Regions from separate parts of the Homo sapiens genome. Here all the other regions are linked to region 2. The links are contacts of gene promoters, found by promoter capture Hi-C in blood cells and fetal thymus (Javierre and others, 2016). All regions are on one chromosome and are shown on one strand. The core of a region is centred on a gene start or on the middle of the fragment in contact, and the rest is flanking DNA. Distances in the headings are between cores, read along the strand shown.

The links. The method cuts DNA at HindIII sites, captures the fragments that hold promoters and counts their contacts. A CHiCAGO score of 5 or more calls a contact.
Region 1: a contact is called between a fragment that was not itself captured here and the fragment with the promoter of SAMD7 in region 2, in 1 of 17 cell types (total B cells). The highest score is 6.3, in total B cells.
Region 3: a fragment that was not itself captured here is called in contact with the fragment with the promoter of SAMD7 in region 2 in 2 of 17 cell types (total B cells and naive B cells); the score reaches 6.6 in total B cells.
Region 4: a fragment that was not itself captured here is called in contact with the fragment with the promoter of SAMD7 in region 2 in 1 of 17 cell types (total B cells); the score reaches 5.0 in total B cells.
Region 5: a fragment that was not itself captured here is called in contact with the fragment with the promoter of SAMD7 in region 2 in 1 of 17 cell types (total B cells); the score reaches 5.0 in total B cells.

The regions. Positions count from the first base shown.
Region 1 is chr3:170,383,443-170,387,742 of GRCh38, reverse strand. It overlaps SKIL (SKI like proto-oncogene), which reads right to left. Exons shown (of 7, transcript NM_005414.5): 4 at 2,978-3,210. Among named protein-coding and RNA genes, the nearest start is that of SKIL, 28 kb to the right of the region's middle. RefSeq lists a silencer at 3,026-3,226. The HindIII fragment of the contact is 1,974 bases long and covers 284-2,257 here.
Region 2 is chr3:169,909,643-169,914,248 of GRCh38, reverse strand. SAMD7 (sterile alpha motif domain containing 7) reads right to left here and starts at 2,677. Exons shown (of 9, transcript NM_001304366.2): 1 at 2,428-2,677. The HindIII fragment of the contact is 322 bases long and covers 2,510-2,831 here.
Region 3 is chr3:170,169,258-170,173,600 of GRCh38, reverse strand. PHC3 (polyhomeotic homolog 3) reads left to right here. Exons shown (of 15, transcript NM_024947.4): 3 at 889-1,044; 4 at 2,151-2,228. Among named protein-coding and RNA genes, the nearest start is that of PHC3, 10 kb to the left of the region's middle. The HindIII fragment of the contact is 1,241 bases long and covers 769-2,009 here.
Region 4 is chr3:170,189,525-170,194,272 of GRCh38, reverse strand. No RefSeq gene overlaps it. Among named protein-coding and RNA genes, the nearest start is that of PHC3, 10 kb to the right of the region's middle. The HindIII fragment of the contact is 3,214 bases long and covers 1-3,049 here.
Region 5 is chr3:170,222,096-170,226,498 of GRCh38, reverse strand. PRKCI (protein kinase C iota) reads right to left here and starts at 4,075. Exons shown (of 18, transcript NM_002740.6): 1 at 3,729-4,075. The coding sequence starts at 3,829. RefSeq lists a silencer at 3,715-4,004 and enhancers at 4,185-4,344, 4,355-4,403. The HindIII fragment of the contact is 759 bases long and covers 1,297-2,055 here.

The sequences.
Region 1 (4,300 bases), core at 21-2,520, 470 kb before region 2:
ACCGTTTTAGCCGGGATGGTCTCGATCTCCTGACCTCGTGATCCGCCCGCCTCGGCCTCCCAAAGTGCTGGGATTACAGGCGTGAGCCACCGCGCCCGGCCTATAGCAGCATTATTCTTAATTGCCAAAAAGTAGACCCAATGCAAATGTCCGACTGACGAAGGAATAAAAAAAATGTGGTATATTCACATAATGGAATCTTATCAGGCCATAAAAAGAAGTACTGGTACATGCAACAACATGGACTGTGAAAACATTATCTTTCATGAAAGAAGCATAAGCTTCTTGACCAGACATGAAAAGCCACATATTGTACAATTCCTTTTATATGAAATGTCCAGAATAAGCAAATCCATAAAGATAGAAAATAGATTAGTGGTTGCCAGAGGCTTCGAGAAAGGGAGAATCAGGGAGTGACTCCTAATGGATTATAGGGTTAATTTTTGGAGTGATGAAAACATTATGGGCCGAGGCGGGTGGATCACCTAAGGTCAGGAGTTCAAGATCAGCCTGACTAACATGGCGAAAACCCTGTCTCTTACTAATAATACAAAAAAATTAGCCAGGCGTGGTGACACACGCCTGTAATCCCAGCTACTCAGGAGGCTGAGGCAGGAGAATCGCTTGAACCCGGGAGGCAGAGCTTGCAGTGAGCCGAAATCACCCCACTGCACTCTAGCCTGGGCGACAAGAGTGAAACTCCATCTTAAAAAAAAAGAAAGAAAAGAAAACATTATGGAACTAAATTAGCTGTGATGGTTGCACAACTTTGTGAATGTATTAAAAACCACTGAATTGTAGGCTTTAAAAGGGTAAATTTTATGGTATATAAATTATCTCAATAATTTTTTAGAAGTCATTAGAATTAATTTAAGAAATAAAATACAATGTAAATATGGCATAATAGTCATTACTAATTTTTGTTTACCATATTTAAATCTGAAGAAAACTGAGTTTTAAAAATCTCAAAATTGGCCAGGCATGGTGGCTCACATCTGTAATCCCAATGCTTTAGGAGGCCAAGGCAGGAGGATCACTTGAGGCTAAGAGCTTAATGCCAGCCTGGGCAATACAGTGAGACCCTGTCTCTACAAAAAAAATGAAAAAATGAGGCAGGCGCAGTGGCACATGCCTGTAGTCCTAGCTACTAGGGAGGCTGAGGTGCAAGGACTATGAGCCCAGCAATTTGAAGCTGCGGTGAGCTATGAATGCATCACTGTACTCCACCAGCCTAGAGCAACAGAGTGAGACTCTGTCTCTAAAAAAGAAAAACGAAACAAAAAACCCTCAAAATAAATGTATAGAAAACCCCTGGCCGGGCGCGATGGCTCACGCCTGTAATCCCAGCACTTTGGGAGGCCGAGGCAGGCGGATCACCTGAGGTCAGGAGTTCGAGACCAGACTGACCAACATGGAAAAACCCCGTGTCTACTAAAAATACAAAATTAGCCGGGCGTGGTGGTGCATGCCTATAATCCCAGCTGCTCAGGAGGCTGAGGCAGGAGAATCACTTGAACCTGGGAGGCGGAGATTGCAGTGAGCCGAGATCACACCGTTGCACTCTAGCCTGGGCAACAAATACGAAACTCTGTCTCCAAACAAACAAACAAACAAACAAAAAAACCAGAAAACCCCCACCCAAGAATCAGCCAGGCGTGGTGGCTCACGCCTGGAATCCCAGCACTTTGGTTGGGAGGCCGAGGCAGGCGGATCACCTGAGGTCAGGAGTTCAAGACCAGCCTGACCAACATGGAGAAAACCCGTCTCTACTAAAAATACAAAATTAGCGGGGTGTGGTGGTGCATGCCTGTAATCTCAGCTACTCAGGAGGCTGAGGCAGGAGAATCTGGGAGGTGGAGGTTGCGGTGAGCTGAGATCTCACCATTTTACTCCAGCCTGGGCAACAAGAGTGAAACTCCTCAAAAAAAAAAAAGAAAAAAAAGAAAGAAAGAAAGAAAAGAAAACCCCCAAGAATCTCAATTCTCTATAAAAACTTAAATAAATAGAGGACCCTCCAACTGTTCCAATGCAGCTAAAGTAACTGTCACACTGCCTAATCACTAAGCAAAGCTGTGCTGCTATATGGATGGTAACACAGGCAATATCTGCAGACATGTCTCATTTAATCCACAGTATTTTAAAAGGCACGGTAAGTAACCAGCTATTTTTCTTTTAAATGACCAGTCAATATTCCACATTTATGCTATATGCCTGGCCCCCAGAGCTTTCAATCCTTGCTTTATTCCATAACTAAGCTTCCTTGAGTTCTATACCTAACTACTCTTACTTACATAATACTTCTTATTATTAAATGGTGTCTCAGTTCATGGCAAATCAGAAAGAAAAATAAAGGTTGGGTGCGGTGGCTCACAACTGTAATCCCAACACTTTGAGAGGCCAAGGCAGGAGGATCACTTGAGCCCAGGAGTTCGAGACCAGCTTGAGCAACATACCAAGACCATCTCTACAAAAAAAAAAAAAAAAATTTTTTTTTTTAATTAGCCAGGCACAGTGGTGTGCGCCTCTGGTCCCAGCTACTAGGGAGGGTGAGGTGGGAGGATCACTTGAGCCCAAAGGTTGAGGCTGCAGTGACCGCAATCTCACCACTGCACTTCAGCCTAGGCGATAAAGACTCTGTCACAAAAAAAGAAAAAAAAAGGAGGAAAGAAAAACAAGGATCTCCTGAAGACTGACAGCAAATAAAAGGTAGGAAAGGAAAAAAATTCGGACAAAAATAACTTGCAGTCTGAGGCCAGGTAGCCTGTATCTATCTCAGTCTCCTGAGCTATCACCACGCTAGAAAAGTATAGCAACTGAGATTAAAATAAATCACCCAGAGTTTTGAAGGGTAGCATTTTTAAAGGTAAAAGCTCCAATTATCTGAAAATTTAGCTCAAACAAAAAGCCTGTTTGAAAATGCTCAATAAATGTGTTCATTAGATATTTAATTTTAGAAAGATAATCTCTGAATACTTACCTAAACGGCTACATAATTCTCTACTTGTTTTTAAATCCATTTTCTCCTGTTCCTCAAGTGAGACATCTGGATAAGACACTGTTTTTTGAAGTTTACCACTACTGTGAGCCTTCTCTGACTGTCTTGATATGGACTTACTTGCCTCTGTCTTTGTGAGCTCTTTAGACTGGGATACAGCAGAAGTAAGTGACACATTTGGGGCAACCACTTTATCACACATGTATAAGTAGTAGCTGAAAACAAGTAAAAGCAAAACAAGACATATATTACATATTACAATTAAGTAAAAATCAAATATGTAACATGCATTTCTGTGGTTAAACTTTTTTTTTTCTAACCAAAACAGACAATATTACAACTCAGAAAATAAAGGTCACAGTAAAGAATTCTTAGGAAAAAAATCAACACTTTAGGCATTACAAACAAAATTATAAGGGATTTTTTGTTAGTTTGCAAGTAACCCAGGCTGGAGCGTAGTGGTATGATCATGGCTCACTGTAACCTCTAACTCCTGGGTTCAAGCAATCTTCCTGCCTCAGCATCCCAGGTAGCTGGGACCACACATACCCATTTTTTTTTAGAGATAGGGTCTTGCTATGCTGCCAAGTTGGTCTTGAACTCCTGGGCTCAAGTGATACCCTCCCACCTCCAACTCCCAAAGCACTAGGATTACAGGCATAAGCAACCATAACCAGCTTGCAAGTAATTTCGTGTTTTTTTTTTTTTTTGGCAAGTAATTTCTAAGCACTAAAAAGATACACAGAAGGAAAATCACAGGCTCTTCTCCTTCCCTCAAAACCACCTGAGAATTAAAAGCATTAAGGACTTTATACAGCTGTGTAACAACTCTGAGCAGGTAAGTTTTACTCCAGAAAAAGAATAATCTATAACTACTTTGGAGGACTTTATCTTGCCCACCACCCTTCCAAAGCAGGGAATCTTTGCTTTGGTGAGGCTGCTTCAGTGGCAGACTGCAAGGCTATGTCCTGACTCACAGGAGGCTCAGTGAGGAGCTCCCAGGGCTCTTCTTATATACCTCAGAGAGAGAGCTCTGAATGTCGCCCAGCTACTGGGCAGTTCTTGTATCAAACCCCACTGAGCAATCTTCTTGAAATACTTCACTACTTCCTACTCATTTGATAAAATGGCAACAATAAATTATGCAAAACTAAGATAAAAGAGATTACCAATTTTGACCAAAACTCACATAAAATTGCCCAGTAGACTCATGTGAGAAGCTCATGGGACAAACAAATTTCAGCTAGATATTTAAGTACCATATTTGTAACTATATTCTGAGTAACACTTAGCAAAAAGATGTAA
Region 2 (4,606 bases), core at 1,428-3,927:
CAGAAAAATGGAGTGGACACTACAGAGAGTTTTCATATCCTCCCCCAACACACACATGCACAGCTTCCTCACTATCAACATCCTGCATCAGAGTGTACATTTGCTACAATCAGTTAAGCTACACTGACACATCATTGCCACCCAAAATTCATAGTTTACATGTGGATTCACTCTTGGTGTTGGACATTCTATGATTCTGACAAATGTAGAATGGCATTTATCCACCATTACAGTATCATACAGAATAGTTGCACTGCCCTATTTGCTTCAAAATTACATTTTGAAGCAAATAAAATCAGAATACTTTTAAGGCAACGTTCTAAGGTTGATCTGATCTTTCCCTTCATCAGCCAGGTAGATACTTGAAACTCCAAATTTGTGTTGCCTTAAAATCATTGTTTTGAGGGTACTGTGTCATATGATCAAGCACGAGTCTTTAAATGTGAACTTTCATATTTTCAGGGCACCCCTTTCTATTTTAGACACATGTAGACAAATTGTAAACTAAGGTCACTTTGCAGTAGCAGATGAAATGCTCAAGTAAAAGTGCAGACTGGAATATAAATTTTCAGTGCAGAGCGTGTCTGGTAATCCCAAAGTGAGGGAGTGCAGTGGTGCTTAGGTCTGCATTCAGCCTGGATTTCTCTGACCCAGAGCTCTAATCCTGGATGCCCAGCACATTAGGAGGATGAGGACTCCTTAATCTCTGTCTTCAGACTCTTACCCTCAACAAACCCCTCCAGGCAGCACATAGATGATTTACCTAGTGCTAATTCTGTCTCAACTGATTAGGGCAGTAGTAGTAAGACATGAACTTCATGAACTAAAGCCCTTGCCAAATCAGCAGATATTCACGGAATGATTTCCCAGTGCCCAGGAGCCGGGTGCCAATTTTATTATATTTGTCTGTTATTGGCTATACTGTGATCTTTCATTAAAATCAGTGCAATTTGAGTTTGGAAAACCCTATATTTGACTAATCGTATGTAGAATATTTATGGTATGTATGATGCATGTTTTCTGATTACATACATTAAAATGAATTAATTTTTAAGTAACTGCTGTATCTGGTAAGTTTTTGTATGTGAAAAGTAGATCAGTAGAATTAAATGTTTCCACAGTTCTGAGATAAATAAATGTAAGATAAATAGATGTAAATTCTTAAATTAAAATGAGAGCAATTTTTACAATTCAGGCCTGGCTTCTTGCGAGTTTTCTTGGCCTTCTCTTAGGCAGTACCCCAACAACTCCAAAGTAATTCCTCCTACTTATGTTTTGCAGAGGCCTTTGTAGTCCATCTCCTCCAACTCTCTCTGAGCACAACCCAAATAGGCCTTCTCCTGGGTCCCTCCATATCTTGCTCCCCTTCCCATCTCTGCCAAGGACGGAGGAGAACTTTAGAAAGACAGTTCATACCGAAGCACTTGGCAGTGCTGCTAAAATGTATTTCACTTTTCCTAAAGGCATAAGCTTTAGGACTTTTCTAACTGCATTTCACCATAGCACATACCCTGGAAAGCATTGAAGACAGTGGGTTACGTGCTGGCTGCTGTCACTTCTTATTTCTTTTTACTCTGGAAGCTCATTTTCATTAGACCTATCCATGTCTTCTTGAAATGTCAGGTTCTAGGCACAATTACAAGTATTGTAAAGAAAAAGGTAAACCTTTGACATCATTAAAGAAGTCAAAATTATGTAATTTCTACTGGACTCAATATAATTTATGTGCAACTACAGTTTGTATAAATTATGTTCACTTTCTTCAAAAGATTGTGAAGCAAAGTCCATTATATATAAATCTGTAGAGACTAAAGTGAAATTCTAGCAGTACTCATATAATGGAACTGAATAGTAGGTGTTTTAGTTAGATAGTCTTAAAGAATGAATTAAGGAATATCAATATAGATTTTATTTCATGATTATCATTGATTGTTCCTCAATGTTTTTCTGAAATTTTCTACTCTGACATTTCATGGTTCATACATCATGACAATTTTTGGAATATAGATATCTATAGTAATGGGGGGCCATTAAAATAATAATATATAGTAAATAAACAGCAGTAATACATAGAGGTAGGTACTTCATCTGTTTGAAGATAATAAAACTACAGTAAATTTACATACAACTTTGAACTGACTTTATCTTAAATAAACTTCATTTTACTTTCACTTAAAAAACTCCAAAAACTAAGACCAGGCAGTGTTTATTTGGTAGGAGTGGTATATCATCTTTACTCGTTAGTAACTTCAGTCAAGTAGGAATTTATTAGCTCACATACTGTTAGTAATAGCCAGTAAAGTCTACACATAAACCTAAGCATTTCCTTTAAGATAAAGATGTCCTTTTATTTTATATGTGAAACATTTTACTCAGAGTAACTGGCCTCAATTTTGGGCTAATCAATGTGTAGAGTTACATACTTACATCCTCTATGAAGACTTCTTGTCTTTGATATTGCAGATGGAAGAACCATACAAAGACTTTCTGGCCTTCAACTGCAGAAGCTTCTCTGGCTGCGGGTTGAAAGGTACATCTGACAATTCTTTCAAAAATGGTCTTAATTCAGTTTAACCTTGCTTTAAATACAAATTCAACTAAGTTGATTAGTCCTATTTCATGACAGAAACTTTGCCCTCTGATATCCTCTACAGATAGGCTAAAAGATGTTAAGCCCAAGGAAAGTGCCCTGCAAGGTGCATAAACCTGTCTCAGAGCTTAGCCTTTAGTGTAATCCTTCCTTAGCCTTTAAGATGCTTTGTGGGCATTCACTTAATACCACTGTTCAACTTGACACAAAAGAAATATACTATGCAAATAAGTAATAAGCTTTTCTTTGATGGAACTATATAGCCTATTCCATATTTCCAACAGGTTTCAAGTGGAAACATTTCTTTTGCGAGTAGGAAAAAACCTAAGTTATTTTCCACAGAGCTGAAACATTTGATGAAAGATGGCAGTCTATTTTAAAAAGAAGCTTCTATAATGGACAACTGTACTTTAATTCTCACAGGCAGTGAGAAAACCCTTTATCATCTGTGTGAGAGCTGTGATCTATATAAGAGGGAAAACACGGAATTTTGAAAATGTGACCTGTTATATTTGCTAGAGAAACATTTATAGCTTGAAAAAGAACATCCATATTTTTTGATTCCTAGTAATTTACTAGTAGGAAGTACAAAATAAGAATTGAATATAAGAAATTTAAGTTGTGTTTCAAGTAATGCTTTAGGCTTCCAGTTTGAAGGTAACCTGCTCCTTTGTTGACACACATTTTTATCATTGGCTGTTGAACTCATTATAAGAAATAGCATGTGGAACTGACTGTATTTATTCCAGGGTTATTGTTCATAAAGCAGTGGTCAACAGCAGGGACTTAGATGACCAACAGACTCAATAAGCCTCAGCACCACCACTCATTAGCTGTATGGCCTGGCCAAGTTACTGAACTTCTCTGAGCCTTAGTTTCCTCATCTCAGAAGAGCCCTTCTTGGGAAAGGGAAGGCAACAAGGTAGACAAAATGCTTGAATAGTTCTCACTAAACATTAGCCATTATGTTAGGTAACTATATTGCACAGAGTCCTCTGTTGAGGATCCATGGGAGGAATTTTTCTCAGCTTGTAGTACTAGGGACAATTGTTTTGTTGTTGTTATTGTTGTTGTTGTTGTTCTGAAAAATAAGGCCAAAATAAAACCTCAGGAATCACGTAACTAGTGTGTTGCATTCTTTGTGTTGGTTAGTAGGAAGTTCAGGACCTGCCTTTAGGCATGCATTTTATTATATTTTTATTTATTTATTTTTGAGACAAGTTCTTGCTCTGCCACCCAGGCTAGAGTGCAGTGGCACAATCATGGCTCACTGTAGCCTCTATGTCCCCAGACTCAAGCAATCCTCCCACCGTAGCCTCCAAGTAGCTGGGACCACTGGTGCACGACCGCATGCCTGGCTAATTTTTTTTCTGTATTTTTTTGTAGAGACAGGCTTTCGCCATGTTGCCTAGGCTGGTCTTGAACTCCTGGACTCTAGCAATCCACCCACCTCGGCCTCCCAATGTACTGGGATTATAGGCGTGAGCCACCATGCCCAGCCTAGACATGCATTTTAAAACCAGAAATGATCTATGGCTTCATCTTATTTTTCCTAACATTATTTTCCCTTTGCCCTAATTTTTACTAAACTGTCTTTCTTGTGTTGTATATGCATTTTGAAGTGTCTCATAAATTATTAGCATTTATAATATTTATGCATACAGTTTTTGTTTTTTTTTGTTGTTGTTGTTTGTTTGTTTTTTTGAGACAGAGTCTCACTCTGTCACCCAGGCTGGAGTGCTGTGGCGTGATCTCAGCTCACTGCAAGCTCCACCTCCCGGGTTCACGCCATTCTCCTGCCTCAGCCTCCTGAGTAGCTGGGACTACAGGCGCCCGCCACCATGCCCAGCTAATTTTTTTTTTTTTGTATTTTTAGTAGAGACGGGGTTTCACCGTGTTAGCCAGAATGGTCTCGATCTCCTAACCTTGTGATCTGCCCACCTCAGCCTCCCAAAGTGCTGGGATTACAGGTGTGAGCCACTGCGCCCCGCCCTAATGCATATACTTTGTTTGTAA
Region 3 (4,343 bases), core at 140-2,639, 260 kb before region 2:
TTTAAAATTAACTCAATTCTTTAGTTGCACTAACCACATTTTAAGTGCTCAGTAGGCACATGTGACTAGTTGTTACTGTATAGGACAGCACTGATCTACATTACTATTTGTTATGGTTGCATGGTAAAGGTATTTCTCTCCACACCCAAGCCCTGAATTCTACGAAGTTTTATCCAAAAAGGTTATGCCAACTTGAATTTTTACTAGCAATATGGGAGTATTGGTTTCCCCAGGTAGTAGTAGTATTCTTTTAAATCTTTATCCATCTGAAAGTTGGAAAACAGTATCTTGTTTTAATTTGTAAGTTTTTGACTACTGGTGAGATTGAAAATCTTTTGAAATGCTTAGTTGGCCTGGCCTGTCTTTTGCGAATTGTCCACTGGGTTTTGTTTTGTTTTTTTTTTTTTGAGATGGGAGTCTTGCTGTGTCGCCCAGGCTGGAGTGCAGTGGCATGATCTTGGCTCAACTGCAGCCTTCACCTCACAGGTTCAAGCGATTCTCCTGCCTCAGCCTCCCGAGTAGCTGGGGCTACAGGCATGTGCCACCATGCCTGGCTAATTTTTTGTGTTTTTAGTAGAGACGGGGTTTCACCATGTTAGCCAGGATGGTCTTGATCTCCTGACCTTGTGATCCGCCCACCTCGGCCTCCCAAAGTGCTGGAATTAACAGGCGTGAGCCACCGTGCCCGGCCCACTGGGTAGTTTTAATGTGTACAAGTTAGTGATTTCTAGTGATATGTAACTAGGAAAGAAATAATGTTAATAAGCTTGATGATATTATGTATTAAAGCAGTGAAATTTTAAACTGCCACTTTTTTATACTTTGATTTTCTGATTAAGATAAAGGTTGAGATTATGGTTTGACATTGGTTCAATTGACTTATCACAGGTAATTCAACAGGCATTGCATCGGCCCCCCAGCTCAGCTGCTCAGTACCTTCAGCAAATGTATGCAGCCCAACAACAGCACTTGATGCTGCATACTGCAGCTCTTCAGCAGCAGCATTTAAGCAGCTCCCAGCTTCAGAGCCTTGCTGCTGTTCAGGTAAGACTAAAATAAGAGTTTATGAGATCAAAGTTTCTGTTATCTGTAGGTAGTTACTGAAAATAAATAGATTGGGTATTATTTCAGAGTTCTCAGATGTCCTGTGGTTATTTTTCCCGGAGGAAATATATTAATAGGTTGCCGAATAGAAGTTAATTGAGAAAAAGGGGATATGTTTTTTTATGTTACTCTGTTTCTAGCTTTTGTCTCAGTGCTTTTTATCCAGATTGAAGAAATGCTATGCTAGTTTATGTGTATAAAGTTCTAGGTACAACAGTGAGTACTTAGGCTTACATAAATTGTATTTTTACTAAAAATAAGATTAAAAAAATTATATAAGTAATTATACTCATTAAAAAATCAAACAATATTAAGTTGTTTATAAGAGATAAAGTAAAGCTGTTCCTTTTCCCTGTCTATCACTGTTTCCCGTTCTTCAAAGGTGGCCACAGTAACAATCTAATACATATTTCTCCAGAAATTTTTTATACAAAGATAGGTATATCCATTTTTCTAAAATCCAATCATATTATTCCTACTGATAACAGGATTTCATTATTAAATGCTTGTTTTTAAAAAAGATTTTTGTTACTATTGTACTATTTAAATAAAGCTGTGTAAGATTTAATCTTAAATCCCCTCACCAGAGGAGGATCTCAATTGACTGAACCTGAAAAAGGTTTATTTCTGTTACCAACAGATTCTCAGCTGTTGCTTCTTAGTAGTGTAATTTTTAAATAACATGTTTGTGATACAAGTTAGGAAACTGAAACCCACTCACTGGCTCTTGCTGTAGCTCTAATTTCTTTTTCATAACTCTGGAGTAGTGATTCCACTTTAAAGATGACAGAGACCCATAAAGTGAAACTGACAATAAAGTAGCTAATAAAATAAGATTAGTCTTTGGATCCCCTGTTTTCACCATTCAGCTTTTCCTTATTTAAAAAATCTGTTTAACCGAAGCTTAAGCCATGTTGACTATAAAATTAGTTGTTTCATACATAGGCCTTTTGACATTTATTGTTGTGGTTTTGTGTTATCATGGTACCAGAAAGTTCTTAACTTCAGGTTTTTACCGACATATTCTAAAAGTCTTACTATTTTAGGCAAGTTTGTCCAGTGGAAGACCATCTACATCTCCCACAGGAAGTGTCACACAGCAGTCAAGTATGTCCCAAACGTCTGTAAGTTCCCTAAATTTTTTTTTCCTGGATTTAAAATTTTAAAGAATTGTTTTCCAAAAGTAAACTGTTGTTATTTATGAAGCTGTTATTATAATTTGTTGCATGCTGTTTAAAGTAACAATTGCCCAGAAATAGAAATGATAAAATTCAAGAATTCAGAACTAATGTTAAACTTATGAAAATCTGAGTCTTAAAAAAATCTTTTTGTATTATTTCTTGTATATCCATTTGCACTGATCATGTTCAGATCTTATGTGGTTTCAGCTTTCTGTGTGTATTGAAAGCCTAAAATATACAATGCAGGGATATTGGCCATGAATTTACTGTGATATACAATAGTATGTCATGTCCTTGGTAGACATCTAAGCATTTCTAACTTTGTGCAATTCACATTTTAGAAATTATACTTTCAGCTTACATGAGTTATTTGGGTTCAATTTGCAAGTATCCATTCAAGATAGGGTAATTTATTTTGAGAAAGGAGTAAAAGAAAGCTGATTCGCTATATTGCACATATATATTGGGAAATTGTGCCAAGTTTCCCAGGTAAAATAAATTTATGGGCATGGTAATACTTGTTTAGCTTTTAATTTTGGTATAATTTTAAACTGCAATAATAATAAAAAAATTTCTGTATCTACTCTACTCAGATTAATCAATTATTGCATATTGCCCCATTACTTTATCATTCATTCTTTTCCACTACATGTATACATATTTTTTTCTGAGTCATTTGTAAGTTGAGATATGTTCCTTTATTCCTAAATACTTTGATGTGTATTTCCTAAGAACAAGGCTATTGTTTTTTGAAGCCACAGAAAAATTACTAAATTCAGGAAATATAACATTGATACAGTGCAGTTCATTTTCACATTTCATCATTTGTCTCAGGTTTCCCAACCTCATCACTATGGACATTATGAGCCAGATAATTCTTTGTTGTCAGGGGCTATCGTGTAATTTATAGGATGTTTAGCAGCATCCCTGGCTACTAGATGCCGGCAGCTTGTGGTCTTTCTCCTTCCTCTAGTGTGACAACTATAGGTGTTTCCTGGTGGGGGGCAAACTGCCTGTAGTTGAGAACCTAATAATGTCCTTTCTAGATATTTTTTCCTGGTCCAGAATGGTAATACTTTGATACTTCATAAAATTGGCTCCAATACAATATAGTTTGTAGGTTGTTAAGGAATTGAAGGTTAAGGAATTGTGCTCTATTTCTTCAGCTAAGGGTATGGTCTTTGCTAACTACATGCTGTGGTCAGCATATAGCTGTGGTTTTTTTTGTTGTTTGGTTTTTTTTTCTGGCTGTTGATCTGACTTTTTTTTTTTGGCGTGGGAATGTCCTGGAGTGTGAACAAGATTAGTTTAAAAAGTTCCCTATGACTTGAAGATGTTAGATTAAATGAAAAACTTAAATAATGTAACCTAGCTCTTAAGCATTAATACTGGAGTTTTTGTCATTGACATCAGATGTCTTTAATACAATGGTAATTAAGGAAAGGAGTGGTAAATATTTTGTGGGCTACTGAAGGAAATTATATAGACAAATTCTTTATTCTGTGAAATACTGGAATAACAATAGGATGTATTTGTATAGATATGTTATTTTGAATTTTTTTCCTTCATGTTATTAAAAGGTATCTTTTTAAACTGTCTTTCATTATGGCTTTATGTATGTGACATTCACAGAAGTTAGAATTCTAGTGATTGTGCTTATATATATGACATTGTTAATGTTACTTGTCATAAACCAGCAGCATTATACCATGAAGTATGCCAAAAGCTGTAAATGGCTGGTGGGGGAAGATAAGTAAGTAGGAAGAACAGATTCCCAGTAAAATAAAGGAATAATACATTACATTTGCTTTATTTACTATCCGTTGTGAGCTTCTGCTCAAGTAATTTGACTAGCAGTAAAAATTACAATGCCCAAGGTAACTTAGTAAATTTAGGTCAATATCCAAAAACGGGGGGGAGCATGGTAACAGATCTCTTAAGTAGTGATGATAATGAGCCATCAGGTAACAGACTAGTAGTTTTCAGAGTTTTGATTATTTTGAGTTAGGTTTCCAGATAACAGTGAAGCCGTGGGAAAGGGTCCATTCTCCAGAAGAA
Region 4 (4,748 bases), core at 193-2,692, 280 kb before region 2:
GGTTCCTTTTGTAGTTGATTTCTAGTTTTATTCCACTGTGGTCTGAGAAGATACTTGATAAAATTTCAGTTTTTTAAAAATTTACTGAGACTTATTTTGTGGCCTATCATATGATCTGTCTTGGAAAATGTTCCACGTGCTGAAGAGAAGAATGTTTATCCTGCAGTTCTCTGGTAGAATGTTCTGTAAATATCCGTTAGGTCCATTTGTTCTAGAGTGTAGTTTTAAATCCATTTTTTTCTTTGCCGACTTTCTGTCTTGATGATCTGTCTAATGCTGCGAGTGGAGTGTTGAAGTGCCCCACTATCATTGTGTTGCTGTCTATCTCATTTCTTAGGTCCAGTAGTAAATGTTTTATGAATCTTAGAGCTCCAGTATTGGTACATATGAATTTAGGATTGTAATATCTTCTTGTTGGATTGATCCTTTTATCATTATATAATTATCTTCTTTGTCCTTTTTTTTTTTTTTTTTACTGTTGTTGCTATTTACTTATTTATTTATTGAGACAGGGTCTGGCTTTATTGCTCAGGCAGGAGTAGAGTGGGATGATCACAGCTCACTGCAGCCTGAACCTACGACACACAAGTGATTGTCCCACTTCAGCCTCCTCATTAGCTGGGATTGCAGGCACACACCACCACACCAGGCTAATTTTTAAATTTTTTCATAGAGACAGGGTCTTGCTGTGTTGCCTAGGCTGGTCTTGAACTCCTGGGTTCAAGGGATCCTCCTGCCTCAGCCTCCCAAAGGGCTGAGATTGCAGGTGTGAACTGCCACACCTGGCTGTTGTTGCTTTAAAGTCTATCTTATCTGATAGAAGAATAGCTACTCCTGCTTGCTTTGGGTTTCCATTTGCATGGAATATCTTTATCCACTCCTTTACCTTGAGTTTATCTGAATCTTTATGTGTTATATAAGTCCCTTGAAGACAACAGATATTTGGTTTGCAATTTTTAGACCCATTCTGCCAATCTGTATCTTTTAAGTGAAGCATTTAGGCTGTTTACATTCAACATTAATATTGAGATTTGAGGCTGGGTATGGTGGTGGCTCACACCTATAATGCTAGCACTTTGGGAAGCTGAGGTGGAAGAATTACTTGAGCCCAGGAATTCCAGAGCAGCCTGGGCAACATGGCGAAACCCCATCTCTACAAAAAATACACACACACACACACACACACACACACACACACACAAACTTAACTGGGTGTGATGGTGCACACCTATAGTCCCAGCTACTCAGGAGGCTGAGGTGGGAAGCCCACTTGAGCCCAGGAGGTGGAGGTTACAGTGAGCCAAGATTGTACCACTGCACTCCAGCCCAGGTGACAGAGCAAGACCCTGTCCCCTCCCTGCAAAAAACAAAAAAACCCAAAAAGGCCATGCCTGCAATCCCAGCACTTTGGGAGGCTGAGGCGGGCAGATCACGAGGTCAAGAGATGGAGACCATCCTGGCCAACATGGGGAAACCCCGTCTCCACTAAAAATACAAAAATTAGCTGAGCATGGTGGCAGGCACCTGTAATCCAAGCTACTCGGGAGGCTGAGGCAGAAAATTGCTTGAACCAGGGAGTCAGAGGTTGCGGTAAGCCGAGATTGTGCCAATGTACTCTAGCCTGGCGCCAGAGTGAGACTCCATCTCAAAAAAAAAAAGAGAGATGTGAGGTACTGTTCCAGTCATCATGTTATTTGTTACCTAGATACTTTGTTTTATTCACTGTGTTATTGTTTTATATGCCCCATGAGTTTTATGCCATCAAGAGGTTCTACTCTAGTGCATATCAGCCTTTTGTTTCAGGATTTAGAACAGCTTTTAGCATTTCTTGTTGGGCTGGTCTGGTAGTGACAAGTTCCCTAAGCATTTGTTTGTCTGAAAATGATTTTATTTCTCCTTTATTTATGAAACTTAGTTTTGCTACATACAAAATCGTTGGCTAGGTTGGGCGTGGTGGCTCATGCCTGTAATCCTAGCACTTTGGGAGGCCAAGATGGGAGATGACTTGAGCTCAGGAGTTCAAGAGCAGCCTGGGCAGCATGGTGAAGCCCCATCTGTACAAAAAATACAAAAATTAGCCATGTGTGGTGGGATGCACTGAAGTGGGAGGGTCACCTGAGCCCAGGGAGGTTGAGGTTGCAGTGAGCCATGATCGTGCCATTCCACTCCAGCCTGGGCAAGAGAGTGAGACCCTGCCTTAAAAAAAAATTCTTAATGGGCCGGGCTTGGTGGCCCATGCCTGTAATCCCAGCACTTTGGGAGGCCGAGGTGGGTGGATCACAAGGTCAGGAGATCGAGAACATCCTGGCTAATACGGTGAAACCCCGTCTCTACTAAAAATACAAATATTAGCTGGGTGTGGTGGCGGGTGCCTGTAGTCCCAGTTACTGGGGAGGCTGAGGCAGGAGAATGGCGTGAACCCAGGAGGTGGAGCTTGCAGTGAGCCGAGATGGTGCCACTGCACTCCAGCCTGGGTGACAAAGCAAGACTCCCTCTCAAAAAAAAATTCTTGCTGGGCGTGGTGGCTCACGCCTGTAATCCCAACACTTTGGGAGGCTGAGGTGGGTGGATCATGAGGTCAGGAGTTCGAGACCAGTCTGGTCAACATAGTGAAATCCCGCCTCTACTAAAAATACAAAATTAGCAGGGCATGGTGGTGCATGCCTGTAATCCCAGCTACTTTTGAGGCTGAGGCAAGATAATCACATGAACCCAGGAGGCAGAGGTTGCAGTGAGCCGAGATCGTGCCACTGTACTCCAGCCTGGGCGACAGAGCGAGACTCTGTCTAAAATAATAATAATAATAATAATAATTCTTGGCTGACTGTTACTCAGTTTAAGGAGGCTGAAGATAGGATCCCAATCCCTTCTGGCTTGTAAGGTTTCTGCTGAGGCCCTTGAATAATTCTACAATTACAACAATAAGAGGTCTTTAGAATGCTTATTCTGGGCTGGGTGTAGGGGCTCATGTTTGTAATGCCAGCACTTTTGGAGGCCAAAAAACCGAGTTAACAAAAAAAAAGATTTGACATGACACTGATATAAAGCTTTATATTTTTAATATTTATTTACTTATTTTTGAGATAGTAGGGTCTTGCTCTTTCGTCCGGGCTTGAGTGCAATGGCACGATCATGGCTCCCTACAACCTTGAATTTCTGGGTTTGAATGATCCTCCCACCTCAGCCTTCTGAGTAGCTGGGACTACTGTGAGCCACCTCACCTGGCCAAAAATTTTTATTTTACTTATTTATTTTTGAGACAGAATCTCGCACTGTCATCCGGCTGGAGTGCAATGGCATGATCTTGGCTCACTGCAACCTTTGCCTCCCGGGTTCACGCGATTCTCCTGCCTCAGCCTCCTGAGTAGCTGGGATTACAGGCGCACACCACCACACCCGGCTAATTTTTTGTATTTTTAGTAGAGATGGGGTTTCACTCTGTTGGCCAGACTGGTCTCGAACTCCTGATCTCGTGATCCACCCGCCTCGACCTGCCAAAGTGCTGGGATTACAGGCATGAGCCACTGTGCCTGGCCAAAATTTTTATTTTAATACATTAGAAGTATACAAGCAAAAATCTATTCTCAGTTACAGAAGCCCAATATTTTAAAATATAGCATATGCAAATTAAAGAAATGTATAATGCTAACTTTCAAAACTAGGGATTGCCTCATAATTAAAGAATATGTCCTTTGGAAATAGGATAGAAGGATTATTTTGCTTTAGTTTAGCATAATAATATGTGGCAAAACAACAAAAAGTGAACAATAACAGCTACACTTATTGAGCATTTTTAATGTTCTATTTATATACATTATTTCATTTTTTGTTTAATTTCACAATAACTTTGTGGTAAATATTATTCTCATTTTTTAGATTAGCAAAGTGGGGATTAGAGAGGTTAAGGAGTTTCATTCATTCAATGCATAATTTTTGAGCGCTTAATGTTTTAAGAACTAGGAATATCACAGTGAGCAAAATGTGGAGCTTACAACCTGGAGGTTGGTGGGAATAGTAAATAAATAAACAAGTAAGTATGTACATAATGTCTGTTGCATTGAAGTGCTATGAAGAAAAGTTAGTGGGATAAGGGAAGAAAAGTGATGAGAGGGCCATATTAGGTTGGGTGGTCAAGGAGCGCTCTCTGAGGAGATGTCTGAACAGAGGTCTGGATGGAATAAGGAAGTGAGGTCAGTGTGAAAGGCATCCCTGGCTGGGGAAGTAGCAAGTGCTAAGGGGGGAAATAAGGAGGCCAGTGAGGCTGCAGCCAACAGAGCAAGGGAAAATCACTCAGGGCCATATTGGTGGGACAGGAAGCCACTGGGGGATTTGAGAGAACAGTGACACTCTGGTTTACATTTCTTCCTTAAGGTACTGTATGCAGAATAGACTGTAGAGGAACAAGAACAGAGGCCAGGTGACCTGTCAGAAGCCTATTGCTGTGGTCCAGGAAAAAATCTGTGTCTTGACTTAGGCTGATAATGGTGGAGGTGACAAGAAATGTCAGATTTGATACGTGTTTTGAGGAATTCATGCATGTTCACAGTGGTGTGGCCAGAGATGCGGTTATACTTTGAAGATGGAGCTGATAGGATTGTAAGAGGTCACAGAGCTGGTGCATGGTAGAGCCAGGATTCAAGTCTTAGTTTGTCTGATTCGAAAGCCCTGCTTTACAACAGTGCTTCTAAGCTGCCACAATGCTAAGCAGAAACTAAGCATAAAAGCAGAATGGAAATGAGAGTGTACAG
Region 5 (4,403 bases), core at 427-2,926, 310 kb before region 2:
ATGAGCAGTCCAGATGTTGCCTTGTTAAAGTCTATCCCATAATAGCAAGTAATTTTATATAAGGATAAGCACATACATTGACAGTTTATCACTAATTAATGAAACCTGTTTCTCTTCCTCCAAACTACTAGCACTAGGTAATAACTGAAGGCCCCTCACTGAAAAGCTTCCTTGCTAGGAAAAGACGGGTGCAGGCCATGAGAAAGGCATCTAAGTAAGATGTGGTGTCCAATAAAATTGAATTTTCAGTGCTATTAATCTCTTGCTTAAAAACTAGATGTAAATTGGCTGGGCAAGATGGCTCATTCCTGTAATCCCAACACTTTGGGAGACCGAGGTGGGTGGATCACTTGAGGTCAGAAGTTGGGAGACCAACCTGGCCAACATGGTGAAAACCCGTCTCTACTAAAATACAAAAATTAGCTGGGCGTGGTGGTGGGCGCCTGTAGTCCCACCTACTCGGGAGGCAGCCGCAGGAGAATCCCTTGAACCTGGGAGGCGGAGGTTGCAATGAGCCGAGATCACGCCACTGCACTCCAGCCCAGGTGACAGAGCGAGACTCCATCTCCAAAAAAATAAATAAATAAAATAAAATAAAATAAAAATTAGAAAAAAATTAAATGTTATTAGATCTAGAGAGATTACACGTTTTCACTGAGATCAAGCTTAACAGAATAATAACACTATACACATCTTTGAAAAGAGAGGGCAATTTTTTCACTAAAAAAAATGCTGGCTATTAAATGAGTCAACATTCACTGGAAAGAAATATTGTTAGAAAAGGGTAGTGGAGCCAGGTACAGTGGCTCACACCTGTAATCCCAGCACTTTGAGAGGCTGAGGCAGGAGGATCACTTGAGCCCAGGAGTTTGGGATTAGCCTGGGCAACACGGTGAGACCTTGTCTCTATTTAAAAAAAAAAAAAAGAAAAGAAAAGTGTAGAGGGATAGAGGAAATGCTATGTAATAATGGCCCTTCAGAAGATTGGAGAGAAAAGAAAACTTTTTCAAATGCAGAATGTTCTCACATTTCTTGGTATAAAGGAAGGATTTTCTATTTTAAAATCAGGTAGGTGTTCTAGTTAGCCAACCTGTTTATTAACTATCCTTGTCCGTGACTCATTTTAGCTTCATCTATATTAATGAGCAGCTGACTATGTAATACCACAATCATCAGTTTAGACTATACAAACACATAATCTTAACATCTAATTTCAGAGGACAGGAATTTGGTACAATTTAGAGTGCTGATATTGTCTTTAAATGAGGCTTGAAATGAAGGTACCATTAGAAAGCTTTCATTGAGCAAAGACCAGTATACAATGGGCAAGAGGTTATTTGCGCCGCAGCAAAATTTCACAGATTTTAAAAGACAATGTTACCTTGAATGTCTTGGAAAAATTGCAGTCAAACACTAAAGAAGCTGTATGTCCTTATTCTCTTCTTTTTAATAACTGGAGCAATAAGCCAAGATAATTTGCTATCTAAATTCATGAAGTACAGCAAGACTTTGATTTCTTCTCAAAGGAGTTTACAATGATTTTCATTTACTAACTGGGCCTATTTACATGTGTCAAACTAATACAAATGGGAAAATAGAAGCACTAATTTCTTACCTTTCATAGACTCATTGGAGAAGATGATCTCAATTAATAAGAATTTATTGAAAGCCTTAGGGCCAGGCGCAGTGGCTCATGCCTGTAATCCCAGCAATTTGGGAAGCCAAGACGAGCGCATCATTTGAGGCCAGGAGTTCAAGACATGCCTGGCCAATATGGTGAAACCCCGTCTCTACTAAAAATACAAAAATTAGCCGGGTGTGGTGGCACATGCCTGTAATCCCAGCTACTCAGAAGGCTGAGGCAGGCGAATTGCTTGAACCCGGGAGGCGGAGAATGCAGTGAGCCGAGATTGTGCCACTGCACTCCAGCATGGGTAACAGAGTAAGACCCTGTCTCAAAAACAAACAAACAAAAATAAAATAAAAGAATAAAGTGAAACATCTCATTCATCAAATTACAGGTAAGGGTTTAAAAAAAAAAAAGCAAAGGAAGCTTTTTTCTCACCTTGCAAAGTTCATGGCTGACCATCCTCAAGTCAAAACAGCTCTTGTGACAACTACAAACTTTAAAAAATATCCACACGTTTCTTGGTACTGATTTAAAATAAAAACCTCCTTAATCAGTTTTACCTGCTTAAACACAAAGTTATCATACTGTCCAATATAACTCCAATAAACTACTCCTGCATACAGTCAAGCTAATAATAAACAGAGGCCAGAGGCTTCATGGCAGCAAATTTAAAAGTCCTTACATCAAGGACAAAAAACCAAACACCGCATGTTCTCACTCACAGATGGGAATTGAACAATGAGAACACATGGACACAGGAAGGGGAACATCACACCCTGGGGACTGTTGTGGGGTGGGGGGAGGGGGGAGGGATACCATTAGGAGATATACCTAATGTAAATGACGAGTTAATGGGTGCAGCACACCAGTATGGCACATGTATACACATGTAACTAACCTGCACATTGTGCACATGTACCCTAAAACTTAAAGTATAATAATAAAAAAAAAAGTCCTTACATCAAATCAATACAACATTTAGGGGCTCAGATTTTCTTTGAAATCAAAACAAGAGAGGTAGTTTGAGAGTTTGCTATCTTCACTGATCCTCTCAGGAATGTAAAAGTATGCATTAAAATTTCAACCTAGCACTGCTTGAGTTTTTTAAAGCAATTTACTTCTACCTGGACAAGCAGTAAGGCAAGCCAAAGTAGCTGGGTTTTCTGTGACTTCTCAGTCTCCAACCTTTATGGTCACACTAACATTTCACGTTTCTAATGCTCCTAAACATAATTATCTCAAAAAAAAATTCAAACCACAACTGAATTTAAAGGAAGGGGGGCACTTTGCGTCACTGATAGAAAATGATTTAACACAATGAACTTAGAACTGGGTTTTTTCTTGTAACCATAGTAAGGGAGTGAAGATCAGAGAATTTAAAACTGTAACTAGGCTAGTCTCCTCACCTTGCAGTATCTCACCCTATCGGGTAGTCGTTGAAACAACACTGAGAAAGAAAGGCTCACAAAATTTTGATTTACACACATGCAACTTAATCTTGACGACACGTAAGTACCCACTGCACGTCCCTGAAAACGCATCGACTTGATTCTTAAATACAACCCCTATGTCTAATATACTGGCAGTGCAGATACACTACGTGAACACAACGGGGATGGAGGTATATCTCAGAGAACCAGAGGCGTTAGGCCTGCTGGTAATCAAAACGGACAGCTAACTGAAGAAGTCCCGTTTTCTATCCCCACAGCAAACTGAGTTAACTAAGGCATCACTTGGAATCCTCAACTCGCAACCCCAAATACACCCAGACTTAAGGATGCAAGGCCCCTACAAAGCTCTCAGGAGGCGAGTCTCTCGTCCACACCAGGTGCACCTACTCTAACCCTAGCTTCCTTCTCGGACCCTACTCTGGCCCCTCGGCTCCCCGCACCGCCATACCTGGGGGCGCCCCCAGTACTGCATCCCCTTGCTTCGCCCCCACCCCTATCACTTCGTCACTCACCCTGAGTCACCGGAGCCGCCCGCCCGCCCAGCCCAATCCGCCCACAACACCTCCAGCCCCTCACCCTCCCCTCCTCCAGGCCGAGTGGAGCCGGCCTGTCCCCTCCCGCCCACCGCCCTGTCCCAGGACACTCACCCGCGGTAGTAGGCTTTCACCCGGACCTGGTGGGAATGGTCCCCGCTGCCGCCGCCTGCGACCGTGTGGGACATGGTGCTGCTGTCCCTCTGGGTCGGCATCTCCTCACTCCCCCGCCTCAACGCTGGAGGCCGGGGGTGCGGGGGGGCGCTTCGGGCGCCGTGGGGGACTCCGCCGCCTGCGCTTGCCGGAGAACCGCGGCCGTCCGCCCACCTACCTGCCCACCTCGCCCGCAGCGCCGACCCAAGGGTCGCCTCGCCGGAGCAGCCGGAACCGCGCGGCTCCTCCCACTGCCCGTAGGCGCCGCCGCCTCTACAGCCGCCCGGGCCCAAGACACCTCCTGCGTCGGTCCCTCCCACTTCGCTCGCTCCAAAGGCCCACATTCCGGGGTAGGGCGGGCGCAACCATCCAGCCAGCTCAAGGAGCCTCAATACCGGGCTGAACCATCCTTACGGGGGCAGAGAAAGGGGACAGAGGGAATGGGAGACGCTGATCATGGCATCAAACACGCCGAGAGGGGTGCTTTCACGCGAGCTGTGAAAGAGACAATGACCAGCTCTAGATCACTAAAGTCTCTTCCCTGCAGGGACAATGGTAGGGACAAATTCTACGACACCTCACCCTAGCCTCGCAACTTGGTCACGTCTGCGGTCGGCCGACTTGGCACCCGGGATA